2 separate regions of the Homo sapiens genome follow, and region 1 is linked to region 2. The links are contacts of gene promoters, found by promoter capture Hi-C in human tissues and cell types (Jung and others, 2019). All regions are on one chromosome and are shown on one strand. Each heading gives the region's core, a stretch centred on a gene start or on the middle of the fragment in contact. The rest is flanking DNA. Distances are from core to core; before and after follow the strand shown.

What was found. Contacts are between HindIII fragments. The study calls those that stand out against the background at their distance.
Region 1: a contact is called between a fragment that was not itself captured here and the fragment with the promoter of MYL10 in region 2, in 2 of the 25 tissues and cell types used here (lymphoblastoid cells and spleen).

What each region holds. Positions count from the first base shown.
Region 1 is chr7:101,746,166-101,749,272 of GRCh38, forward strand. No RefSeq gene overlaps it. Among named protein-coding and RNA genes, the nearest start is that of CUX1, 70 kb to the right of the region's middle. The HindIII fragment of the contact is 5,608 bases long and covers 1-3,107 here.
Region 2 is chr7:101,627,366-101,630,619 of GRCh38, forward strand. It overlaps MYL10 (myosin light chain 10), which reads right to left and starts at 1,931. Exons shown (of 8, transcript NM_138403.5): 1 at 1,676-1,931. The coding sequence starts at 1,753. The HindIII fragment of the contact is 21,528 bases long and covers 1-3,254 here.

The DNA of each region.
Region 1 (3,107 bases), core at 135-2,634, 120 kb after region 2:
TGGGATTACAGGTGTGAGCCACACCACAGTTGCCCTCTAAAGTCTAGTTTTATCTTGTGAAGAGTGAGGAGCCGCTATGAGGTGATAAGTCAGTGTCCTTCCAGACCCTTCCAGGAAGCCCACTCCGACTGTTACCCTGGGGTTCACTGGTATCTCTGAGCACCTTGTGCTTCTGAGCCAGGCCCCCGGCTATGGAAGGGGTGGGGGCGATGCTCCTAGAGGTTGGAGGACAGATCATGAATGACAGAACAGTCTGATTTTCCTGGAGGACGCCCCTCCTTAGACAGGGCAAGCCCCCAGCCAGTGCCTCCTCCTTCCCAGCACTCAATGCTCCTCCTCTGCCTCCTTCACCTTTCACTTCCTCTTCCTCCACCTTCTGCTGCTCACCAGAGTCCAACTCACATTTCTTTAAAAACTTAAAATGGGCTAAGTGCATGGTGGCATGCACCTAAAATCCCAGCACTTTGGGAGGCTGAAGCAGGAGGATCGCTTAAGGCCAGGAGTTCGAGGCTGCAGTGAGCTATGATCACACACTGCTGCACTCCAGCCTGGTTGACAGAGATCCCATCTCTAAATATTAATAATAATAGACTGGGTGTGGTGGCTCATGCCTGTCATCCCAGCACTTTGGGAGGCTGAGGAGGGCAGATCACCTGAGGTCAGGAATTCGAGACCAGCATGGCCAACGTGGTAAAACCCTGTCTCTACTAAAAATACAAAAATTAGCCAGGCCTGGTGGCGGGCACCTGTAATCCCAGCCACTCGGGAGCTTGAGGCAGGAGAATCACTTGAACCTGGGAAGCAGAGGTTGCAGTGAGCTGAGATCGTACCACTGCACTCCAGCCTGTGCAACAGACCATGATTCAGTCTCAAAAATTAATAATAATAATAATAAAATAAAGCTTCTTTGATGAACGGATCCAAAATTTTCCGATCAGAAAATCTAGAAAGAAGGTATTTTAATTTCAGCATATGTGTAAGTTTCATGGTTTCAGGGGTGTCCAAGGGAGAGAATACAGTCACAGGCTCTTAGTTTCTGTTTCTGGTTGGGTCAGTAAATCCCCTTCCTCATCCCTCTTTTCCGCTTGTCACTAGAGACAGAAACTAAAAACCATGGTTTCAGGCTGCTAAAAGCCTAAAACAGAACAGAACAACAACAGCCAAACAAGGCAGGTTGGGCAAGCTTGATAGGGTTTAGTATCATTTTTTATTGTTTATTCTGTATGGACAGGGCACATCATCTGCTCATTGTGGGACCTGCGCAAGACCCAGATCAGGGCTACCTCCTCCAGGAAGCCTTCCAGGCTCTACAGGCTGCGTCAGGTCCTATCTGCCGTGCTCCCACAGCCCCTGGGGTCCTCACCATTGCAGTCCTCAATACGCAATATTGGAGTCATTGGTTTACCCATCCCTCTCCCTCATCACGAGCTCCTGGCGGCAGAAACTAGAGTCATTCCTCCCTGCGTCCCCAGCGGTGCAAGCAAGGTGCCAGGAACAGTTAGTGGCACTGAGTCTGAGAAGCAGGCTGGCCTGTGTAAGTTGCCTTCTGCTCCAGCTGTGTCCTGGGTTGTGATGGGATCAGACCGCCTTCTAAGAGGCCCTTTCACAAGCTTGCCACCCTCCCCCACCGGGTTGTGGGACCCTCTTTGGAGCCTCAGAGAAATCCCTTTCTTCCTGTCTCCCTGGACTCAGCCACCACCCTCCCAGCCTGCCGGGAGGGGACTCCCACAGACACCTCCCCTCCCTGTCCAGCCCGGAGGAGGGGGATCAGATGCCGGGCTGGAGGCCCCTTGTCTGCACAGAGGCAGGATTTATCTCAGTTTGGGGAGGTCTGGGGCCCCCAAAGTCCTAGATCATCATTAGTTCCATCAAAGAGGCGGCTGTGATCTCAGAGACAAGATGCATGGTGTTCAAATTGGAAACAGCCTGGTGGGCCGAGGGGCCGCGCTGGGCGGGGAGAGGGTTCGGGCCGCCTCCGGGGGACCCCAGGACACTGGAGGCATCCCACAGACGGTCACAGGAAGAGGAGGAGGAGGAGGAGGAGGAGGGAAGAGAAAACATTCCACTCAGGCTCCAGGGAAGAGAGCCGTGCACAGATGGAGCAAAGCCAAGTCTGCGAGTCAAGGCGACCTCCCCACGGAGGCTGGAGAGAAAGGATGGCCAATTGTACTCACCAGTCACCCCATGAGGGTCCTACTGCGTCCCACCCCGCACCGCAAACCTTCGTGGGCCCTGTCTCACCACCCACAGCAACCCCTGAGAACTAGAAAGTGAAGGAATGCATTGCCTTTGCTTTACAGATGGGGAAACTGAGGCTCGGGTGGGGGGAGGGCAAATGGATGTGCCCTAGATCACCAGGGGTACCTGGCACGGCTGGGGTTCCAGCCCAGGTGCCTGGGTCTCTGGAACTTCACCCTGACTCTGGAAAGCCATAGCAAGGAATTGGTTTTTTTTTTTTTTTTTTTTTTTTTTGAAACGGATTTTTGCTCTTGTTGCCCAGGCTGGAGTGCAGTCTCGCGATCTCAGCTCACTGCAACATCCGCCTCCCGGGTTCGAGCGATTCTCCTCCTCAGCCTCCCAAGTAGCTGGGATTACAGGTGCCCACCACCATGCCTGGCTATTTTTTTTTTTTTTTTTTTTTGTATATTTAATAGAGATGGGGGGCTGGGCACAGTGGCTCATGCCTGTAATCCCAGCACTTTGGGAGGCCGAGGTGGGTGGATCACGAGGTCAGGAGATCAAGACCATCCTGGCTAACATGATGAAACCCTGTCTCTACTAAAAATACAAAAAAATATTAGCTGGGTGTGGTGGCGGGTGCCTGCAGTCCCAGCTACTCGGGAGGCTGAGGCAGAAGAATGGCGTGAACCAGGGAGGCAGAGCTTGCAGTGAGCCGATATCGCGCCACTGCACTCCAGCCTGGGCGACAGAGCGAGACTCTGTCTCAAAAAAAAAAATAGAGATGGGGTTTCACCATGTTGGCCAGGTAGACCTCAGGTGATCTTCCCGCCTTAGCCTCCCAAAGTGCTGGGATTACAGGCGGGAACCACTGTGCTCAGCCAAGGGATTGTTGAGTGTGTACAGTTCTCTATCCTTGTCGCTGCCTG
Region 2 (3,254 bases), core at 681-3,180:
GGGGACCGCAGTGCTGAAGCCAAAGACACAACAGCCACAGGCCTGAGCTCCCCAGGGAGGAGGTGGAGGTGAGAGGAAGGTAGCCGTGGCAGAGCAGAACAACCCCAGCCTACCATGGTCTGGAGAGCTCCCTGAAGCTGCAGTTGGCCTGGGGATAGCTCAGAGATGGCCCTTAAATAGTGGTCCTCCCAGGGCCCCTGGCATGCACCGGGCCCAGTGTGGAAGGTGATCCATGACAGGACGGAGACCTCCCTGCCAGGCACCTGCCTTGGGCCATTCAGAGTGGATAGGGTTGGGGGGAATCCGTGGGCAAATACCACGGACGCAGGGACTGCCTAAGCCTCCAGGATCTCCGAGAGCCCTGGGCCAACTGTTTTCTCTAGAGCCAAGGGACCAAGACCCAGGAAGGGGCATTTGGCCAAGGACACAGAGTAAGTTGAGGCTGCCTACCCCAATGGGAAGACTTGGCCTTGAGCCGTCAGGGAGTGTTGCCCAGGGTGGGGCCACCCATGCTGGCTGGGACCCACTCAGACTGCAGTGTGGCCGGACCTCTGGAGCTGTGGGACTCTGGGTGGGACATCACCCTCTAGGAGGCTCAGCCATCTCATAGGAATAGGGGGGAGTGTATGAAACCCCCGGTCTGCTTATGGAGAGAGTTTCTGCACCAACCTGGCCCTCGGGGGCCCCTTCTACCAATATGCCTATTATCAGGGTGTCCATTAAGCACCCCCAGGCCAGGGGACCCCCTCAGGGCACTGAAATGCTCAATGAACAGAGAAAGCAACAGGACAAATAAAAGAAAAATGGGGTGGGCGCAGTGGCTCACGCCTGTAATCCCAGAGCTTTCGGAGGCCAAGAGGGAAGGATCGCTTCAGGCCAGGAGTTCAAGACCAGCCTGGGCAACATAGTGAGACCCCTATCTCTACAAAATATCAAAAAAATTAGCCGAGCATGGTGGTGTGCTCTTGTAGTCCCACCTACTCAGGAGGCTGAGGCAGGAGGATTGCTTGAGTCCAGGAGTTTGAGGCTGCAGTGATCTATGATTGTGCCACTGCACTCCAGCCTGGGCGACAGAGTGAGATATTGTCTCTTAAAAAAAAGAAAACAGAAAACTGGAGGTGACTCTGATGAGGAAGAACTGAAAAATGAGACCTCCATTCCACCCTGGCCTCACACACACACATCCATCCCCACCAGGCCTGGCCCAGCCCAAGAATTCTCTAGTAGATCTGCCAAACAGAGCCCACACCTGCCCTGGAAAGCCCCTCCTGTGTCTAGTGCAGCCCCAGCAGCCCCAGCTCGGCCTCAGAGGCTGCCACTGTCCATCTGGGGCCCGCCATATCTGAACAGCTGCCAGGGCCGGCAGTGCTGGGTTCAGGCAGTGAGCCCACGGGTCCCCAGGGGCTGGAGAGCTTAACTGTCCCTGGAGCTGGCCTCAGGCCTTCAGCCCCGGGTACAGCTGATCCCCTGCCTTTGGGGAAGGGAATATCATAATAATAATAAGAAGAGCAGCTAATATACAACACAGAAGGTCAGGCCATGTCTTAAAACACGTGTCCTCACATTCAATCCATATCCCATTTTCCAGATGAGGAAACTGAGGCACGCATGGGTTAAGTCACTCACCCAAGGCAGATAAGAAGTGGGGCCAGAGGCCAGGCACAGTGGCTCATACCTGTAATCCCAGCACTTTGGGAGGCCGAGGAGGGAGGATCACTTGAGGCCAGGAGTTTGAGACCAGCCTAAGCAACATGGTGAAACTCTGTTTCTACAAAAAAATTTTTTTTAATTAAAAAATTAGTCAGGCATAGTGGTGAAGTGAAAAAGTTCCCTTATCCCGTTCATAGGGCATGCGATGGGGGTGTGGCTCGCTTCTTCCATGCCCAGCTGCTCAAACCTCTAGGCGGACCATGCAGACAGGCAGGCTATGGGGCTCCGACCCCACGGCAGTGTCTAGGGGTGGATGCTTACAGCTCCTGAAGCCCCAGTGGGCGTGTGTTACAGGATGCTCTTTTACTTTTGCCATCTGTAGGTGGCTTGTGTTCATCAGCTCAGTTAGACCCTCTGCCTTATTGCAAGGACAAAGGGCTTTTTGTATCCTGGGGTTCTTGCCTTGGTGTACTGTGAAAATTGAATCACATGTGGGCTTGGAGAATGAGTGCGAGGTTTTATTGAGTGGTGGAAGTAGCTCTCAGCAGATGATGGGGAGCCAGAAGGGGGATGGAGTGGGAAGGTGATTTTTCCCCTGAAGTCAAGGTGCTCAGCAGCCAGACTCTCCTCTGACCATCCCCAGCCAAATTCCCCTGGGCATTTGTGTTATTCAGCCAGTCGATGGCCTGCCAGCATCTGCCAGTGCTGTCGGTGTGCTCTTCCGATCCTCTGCTCCTCTTGATGTCCAGCCACCTGTGTGTGTACCCACTGGGGTCTCAGGGTTTTCATAGGCACAGGATGGGCGGGGGGGCGGGGGGCGTGGTGGGCCAGGGTGGTCTTGGAAAATGTGACATTTGGGCATATAAACAGGAGTGCCTGTCCTCACCTAGGTCCGTGGGCACAGGCCCAAGGGTGGAGCCCTTGCCAGGGACCCTGCCTTTCTCCTCTCAGCACTTCCCTGTCCCCCCTCCTGTATCAGTGGCACATGCCTGCAGGCCCAGCTACTTAGGAGGCTGAGGTGGGAGGATCACATGAGCCCAGGAGGTTGAGGCTTCAATGAGCTGTGATTGCACCACTGCACTCCAGCCTGGACAACAGATCAAGGTCTCATTTCTAAAACAAAAAAAAAAAAAAAAAAAAAGAGAGAGAGAGAGGGAGGGCCAGGACAAGAGCCCCTCTTTCTAGTGTTTCCAGAAGGAAGCTTCCAAAAGGTTCTGCTCATCCAAACTCTCCCCTCCTCCTGCTCCCTCCCAGTCATCCCTGACTACAGCTATTTCTGATGTCCCTAAACTCCTGTGACTGAGTGCTCCTCCCAGAGCTGGGGCCAGGTCCAGCCATGATGCTGTGCAGCCCGCTTTCTGCAGCAGGAAACCGTGTGCCTCAGTTTCCCCGACAGGGCTGCTCTCCTGGTGTCCTGGCGTTCCTCTCCGGGGAGAAAAACCACACGTTCCACAGGTGTTCAACAAGCCAGGCGGAAAGGAGAACCCAGCTCTGGGGACGGGAGCCTGGATTCCAGTCCCAGCCGCCTGGACCTGCTACAGAAGGGGGCCTGTGTGACCGCGACAGTGGCTAGGGTGCAGGCTTTCCATGCCCGGTCTGTGAGC